2 separate regions of the Homo sapiens genome follow, and region 2 is linked to region 1. The links are contacts of gene promoters, found by promoter capture Hi-C in blood cells and fetal thymus (Javierre and others, 2016). All regions are on one chromosome and are shown on one strand. The core of a region is centred on a gene start or on the middle of the fragment in contact, and the rest is flanking DNA. Distances in the headings are between cores, read along the strand shown.

The links. Contacts are between HindIII fragments. The CHiCAGO score rates a contact against its expected background, and 5 or more counts as called.
Region 2: a fragment that was not itself captured here is called in contact with the fragment with the promoter of IDH3B in region 1 in 4 of 17 cell types (naive CD4 T cells, total CD8 T cells, total CD4 T cells and 1 more); the score reaches 5.7 in naive CD4 T cells.

What each region holds. Positions count from the first base shown.
Region 1 is chr20:2,662,914-2,665,561 of GRCh38, forward strand. IDH3B (isocitrate dehydrogenase (NAD(+)) 3 non-catalytic subunit beta) reads right to left here and starts at 1,303. Exons shown (of 12, transcript NM_006899.5): 1 at 1,240-1,303; 2 at 1,012-1,092; 3 at 747-845; 4 at 533-653. The coding sequence starts at 1,275. IDH3B-DT (IDH3B divergent transcript) reads left to right here and starts at 1,361. Exons shown (of 3, transcript NR_186432.1): 1 at 1,361-1,693; 2 at 2,345-2,591. RefSeq lists enhancers at 1-367, 1,941-2,648. The HindIII fragment of the contact is 11,157 bases long and covers 1-2,648 here.
Region 2 is chr20:2,983,086-2,985,733 of GRCh38, forward strand. The region is part of intron 6 of PTPRA (protein tyrosine phosphatase receptor type A); the gene reads left to right. Among named protein-coding and RNA genes, the nearest start is that of GNRH2, 59 kb to the right of the region's middle. The HindIII fragment of the contact is 1,275 bases long and covers 680-1,954 here.

The DNA.
Region 1 (2,648 bases), core at 53-2,552:
AACATTGCACTCCAGCCTGGGCGACAGAGCGAGACTCTGTCTTAAAACAAAACAAACACAAAAATTAGCTGGGTGTGGTGGTGCACACCTGTAGTCGCAGCTACTCAGGAGGCTGAGGCAGGAGAATTGCTTGAACCAGGGACGGGGAGGTTGCAGTGAGCCGAGATCGCGCCACTGCACTCCAGCCTGGGCGACAGAGCAAGAAGAAACAAAGAGGAAGGAAGGGAGGGGAAAAAAAAAAAAAGAAAAGGGGCAGCTAAAAGTGGTATTCCAGAAATGCAATGAATAAGATTTGATGACAGTTGATGTAGCCTCAGGACAGACTCAGAACCCCTGGAACTTTTCTGCATAGACAGCTGACATGATCTCTCAACTCCTGGGCTCCCAATGGGAAGGAACAAATGTCCAAATACCAATGGTGGTTGCCCTGGAGTTAATATAATTGCATAGCATGTGGGGAGAAGGGCTTAATAAACATTTGGTCATTTGATTTTAAATGGCACATGGACAAGTGGCAAGAGGGCACACATACCAATGATGGCCACTTTGTTCTCCTTCATGGAACTCAGCACCTGCTCCAGCTTCTCCTCAGATGCCATATTCTGCACCTCACTCAGGTGGTGCTCCTGGAACTCCACTGGGACAGCGGCAGCCTTCAGAGACAGGTTCCCAAAACATCACAGTCAAGGCCAAGTCCTTTCCAACACACTACTGTCCTCTACTGTCTGATCCCCGAGGCCACTCACCTTGAACACCTCCTTGACGGCGTGCATCAGCTCAGGCCCCACACCGTCTCCCGGAAGCATGGTCACGGGAAAGGAGCCCTCCACCCTCACGTCCTCGGCCTCAATTGGGGGAAGAGGGGAGAAGTAAAGATAGAGCTGGGGCGGGAGCACGGATCCTGGGAGTAGAGAAGTAGGGAGACCCGGGAGGGGTGGGGAAAAGCCAGGGGAGGGAGCAGCGAGGAAGGGACAGGGTCGTAAGAGAGACCCCAGCCAGATTCGTGCATACCTGGCTCCGCGATGCAGCGTGCGCCGCGGCCGAGGTACTCAGACCTCTCCATGCCCCAGGGTTCCCGGCGGAGACCAGCGCCTGCAACAGGGACACACAAGCCTGTAAGGTCAGCTTTGAGACATCCAGACCCCGAACACTACAGTTGACTTTGCCCTGTTTAGGAAACCCTAGGACAAACTCTCCGCTCCTTCGCCCGCCCCTGCCCGACATGTCCCGGGGCCTCACTCGGGTCAGCCAGCGGACTCCGCTCAATGCCGCCATGTTTCCCGCAGGAAGTCGCGTGGGAAGTGACGCCTGAAGCTGGCGCGGCCCCGTACCCCGACTTCCGGCCTGTACTGAGTTCCTGGTATTTCTCTCTCTGCGCCAACCAGCACTGCTTGCTCACGCCTGTTTCTCCTTTTCCTTGCCGGTGGGGAGGTCATGGGATGCGCAAGCACTTTGTCTCTTGCTTTGTTTTCAGTCGCCATATTTAATCTACGTCGAAACTTCAAAATAACATTAGGGGGAAAAATGTAGCGTCATGTTTATCAGACGAGGACCTGAGCTTAACAAGCGATTGAGAGAAAATCCTTGGGAAGCTGTTAAAATTTGTGTGTCAATGCGTTTGTTATTCTTTTAACCAGTACTCACTGAATACCTGTATGTCAGGCTCTCGAGGAATACAGTACAGACATGGGAGGTGTGTGTCGGGTTTCTCCGCCAGTCTCCGAGAGTGCCCAGGACCTCTGTATTACCCGTCGCCTCGTAGTTTTTTCTTACAGGGTTTTGTTCTTTGCTCTGACAGTTATTTCCCTAATAGTGTGTCCCGGACTTGAACTCCCCAGGACAGGCCCATAACTAGTGTCAGAAATGAGTTCAAGCGTGTAAGTGTGACTAAAGGGAATTTCAGACTGATCCTTAAAGTAACAATCATAAAAACTAAAAAAAGCCTGGACAACATAGGGAGACCTCGACTCTACAAAAAATTTAAAAATTAGCCAGGCGTGGTGACACACCTGTAGTCCCAGCTACTTAGGAGGCTGAGGTGGGAGGATCACTTAAGCCCGGGAGGTGGAAGCCGTAGTGAGCCGTGATGGCACCACTGCACTCCAGCCTGGGAGACGGGGCGAGACCCGTCTCAAAACAATTACAGTCACGATTTTTTTTTTTTTTTTTTTGAGACAGAGTCTCGCTCTGTCGCCCAGGCTGGAGTGCGGTGGTGCGATCTCGGCTCACTGCAAGCTCCGCCTCCTGGGTTCACCCCATTCTCCTGCCTCAGCCTCCCGAGTAGCGCCCGCCATCACACCTGGCTAATTTTTTTTTTTTTTTTTTTTTTTTTTTGTATTTTTAGTGGAGACGGGGTTTCACCGTGGTCTCGATCTCCTGACGTCGTGATCCGCCCGCCTCGGCCTCCCAAAGTGCTGGGATTACAGGCGTGAGCCACCAAGCCCGGCCTCCAGTCACGATTTTAGGTGTGTACAATTGACACACCTAAAGACAAACTGGTACAGGAAGATTTGCCTCACCCGCTCTTCTGGAAGTATGGTTTTGGATCACCTATCCAGATGGACCAGAGCTCTTGTTAAAAGTGCAGGCTTGTGAGTCATACTTCATTTGCTGAATCCAAATCTCAGTGATGGGGGCCCAGAAAATAT
Region 2 (2,648 bases), core at 67-2,566, 320 kb after region 1:
TATTTCAGAAATGAGGAAACTGAGACTTATGATCCTAATTTAGTATTAGGAAGTCAGAGAAGACCTGTGTGGGAAAAGTGACACACAGAGAACCAGACAAGTAGGAGATAACCAGGCAAAGAACAGAGAGAGGCTGTGTAAAGCAGAAGGAATAACATGCTCAAAGGCCTGAGGATGAATGAATGAAAGCATGGAAGGACACCAGTGGCTGAAATTGAGTGAGCAAGGAAAGAGTGCAAGAGATAGGGCAGGTAGGGGCTAAATCGAGGGGGTTGTTAGAGTCCAGGATAAGGAGATTAGATTTCATTCTGAGGCATGAGAAACTGTTGGAGGGTTTTACCTAAGAGTGGGACACAACCTGAGTTGCTTTCCTAGAGATCACTCTGCTTTGTGGAGAATGGATTGGCAGGGGCAGAGGCTTACTGTGATCCAGGTGAGAGAGGATGGAGGTTGGGACTACACTGGTGGCAATAAAAAAAATGCAAAAAAAAAAAAAAAAAAAGGCAGACAGATTTGAAGTTTTAGATATATCTCCAAAATATATTATTTGCAGCTGTGCTAGATATAGAAGATAAGTGTGAGGAAGAAATCAAGGGGGTTTCCACATTTCTTACTTGAGCAACAGGGTGGGTTGGAGTACTAGCTACTGAATGGTGAGGGAAAGGTTTTAAACACAGAAAGCTTGTGTTGCCTATGAAATTTAAAGTGGAGGTGGCAAATAGGCAGTTGAGAATCTGGAACTCAGAAAAGAGGTCTGATCAAGCAAAGCAACTGTGGGAATTGCTAGCATGGCATTTATATTTACAGTCATCTCTCTGATCAGATTAACTAGATATAGAGAAGAGTGCCAAGGACAGAGCCCTGAGGAATTCCCACATTTAGAGATCTGGTGTTGGAAGAGGAACAGATAGTGAGGGAAACTGAGATGGGCAGACGAGATAGAAGGAAAATCAGAGGAGTGTTTCGTTGTGGAAAGCTAAGAGAGGAAAGTGCTTCAGAGAGGAAGGAGTGATCAGCCAGTCTGAACACTCATTTTAAGGTGAGAGCCACATACCACAGTATGTTTGAAACTTACCATTAACAAAGAAGCGTCATGTAATGTCTTCCATCTCTAAAAACAAAACCAAAAAAAACCCATCTGTCCACCTCACTCACATCTCCCTCCATCTGTCATTCCTTTCCTCTGCATCCCTTAATGTTAAAAGTCCCCACGAAAGGACCCAGTGTCTCACTGTCCTTTTTCTATCTTTATTTCACTCCATTTAGGCTTTCTCACCCATATTCAACTGAAAATACTCTTGGAAAGGTCACCAGTAGCCACCGTCTTGTCAAATCTGGTTTCACTTCTCTGTCTCATCCTTCTTAAGTCTGTAGGCAGTATTTGATTGAATTGATTGCTCCCTCCTTGAAAAACTCTGCTCTTGGCTTCTATGACACTACATTCTTAGATTAACCTCTCACCTCATGGCTACTGCTTATGGGTCAGTTTAGCTTTTAACAGAATGTAAATCCAGTTATATATCTCCTCTGTTCAAAGCCCTTCGATGACATAGTGTTTCTCATCACACTCAGAATTAAATCCACAATCATTACAATGGACTCCCAAGTCCTAAGTCTGCTGGCTTTTGCCCACCTCTCTGGCATCTTATATTGAACTGGCCTTTGTGCTGTTTCTTGAACCTGCCAAGCTCCTGAGAGCTACCATGCTTGCTGTTCCCAGTGTCTAGAAAGCTCTTCACCCAGATCTTTGCGTGGTTCACTTCACGTTATTTAGAGCTCTGCTTGTATATTACTTCCTCAGAGAGACCTTCCCAGACCACTGTATCACTGCTCCCCAACCTGTCACTTTCTCTCTCCCCACCCTGCTTTTTATTCCTCATAGCACTTGTCCCTGTCTAAAATTAAGTATTGACTTGTTTATAAACAGTGTCTTCCTTCCTCCCCACAGAATGGAAGCTTTCTATCACTTGTCTCCTTGAACACTTCTCTGTTCCTAGTGTCTCAAACAATGGCATGCAATTGCTGGCCCACAGATATTTGAATGAATGCTGCTAAAAGGTTGAATCAGATGAGGATGGGAATGTTCCTGTTGGATTTGGCAATATGCCATTTGTTGGTGTTCTGGCTGAGCAGTTTAAACAGAGCACTGAGGGTGGGAGTCAGGGCAAATAGATTAAGGAGAACCTGAAGGTAAGGAATTAGACAAGACGAATTAGACAACTGTGTTTCGGAAAGTCAGCTGAGAAGAGAGACGCGAGGCTGGTGGTAGCTGGGGGAGGGTAAATGAGGTCAAGAAGACAAGTCTTTGAGTTGACAGCAGTGGATGTAATCCAGAGCACACATGACAGGATGGAAGAGACTTGTCTTCCCTTTTAGCAGGTAGGAAAATGGTGAAGATAGTTACCAAGCCACTCTGATGGTGTAGTTCATGGAGTCGGGTGGAGGGTGAGAGTGGAGGCGGATGAGTCAGTGCCTGGCCAGCTGCATGAGAAAACAAGGCTAGGTATTGGGTGAAAGGGAGCCAGGCCCTGTGGAATGAGGTGGGATTGCCATGTCTTCAAACCAGATGTTGCCATGGTTGGGGTCCTGGCAAAAGGTGACTAAGGGAGCAGGGTGTGGAAAGAGGAAAAAAGAAGCAACCAGCAGTT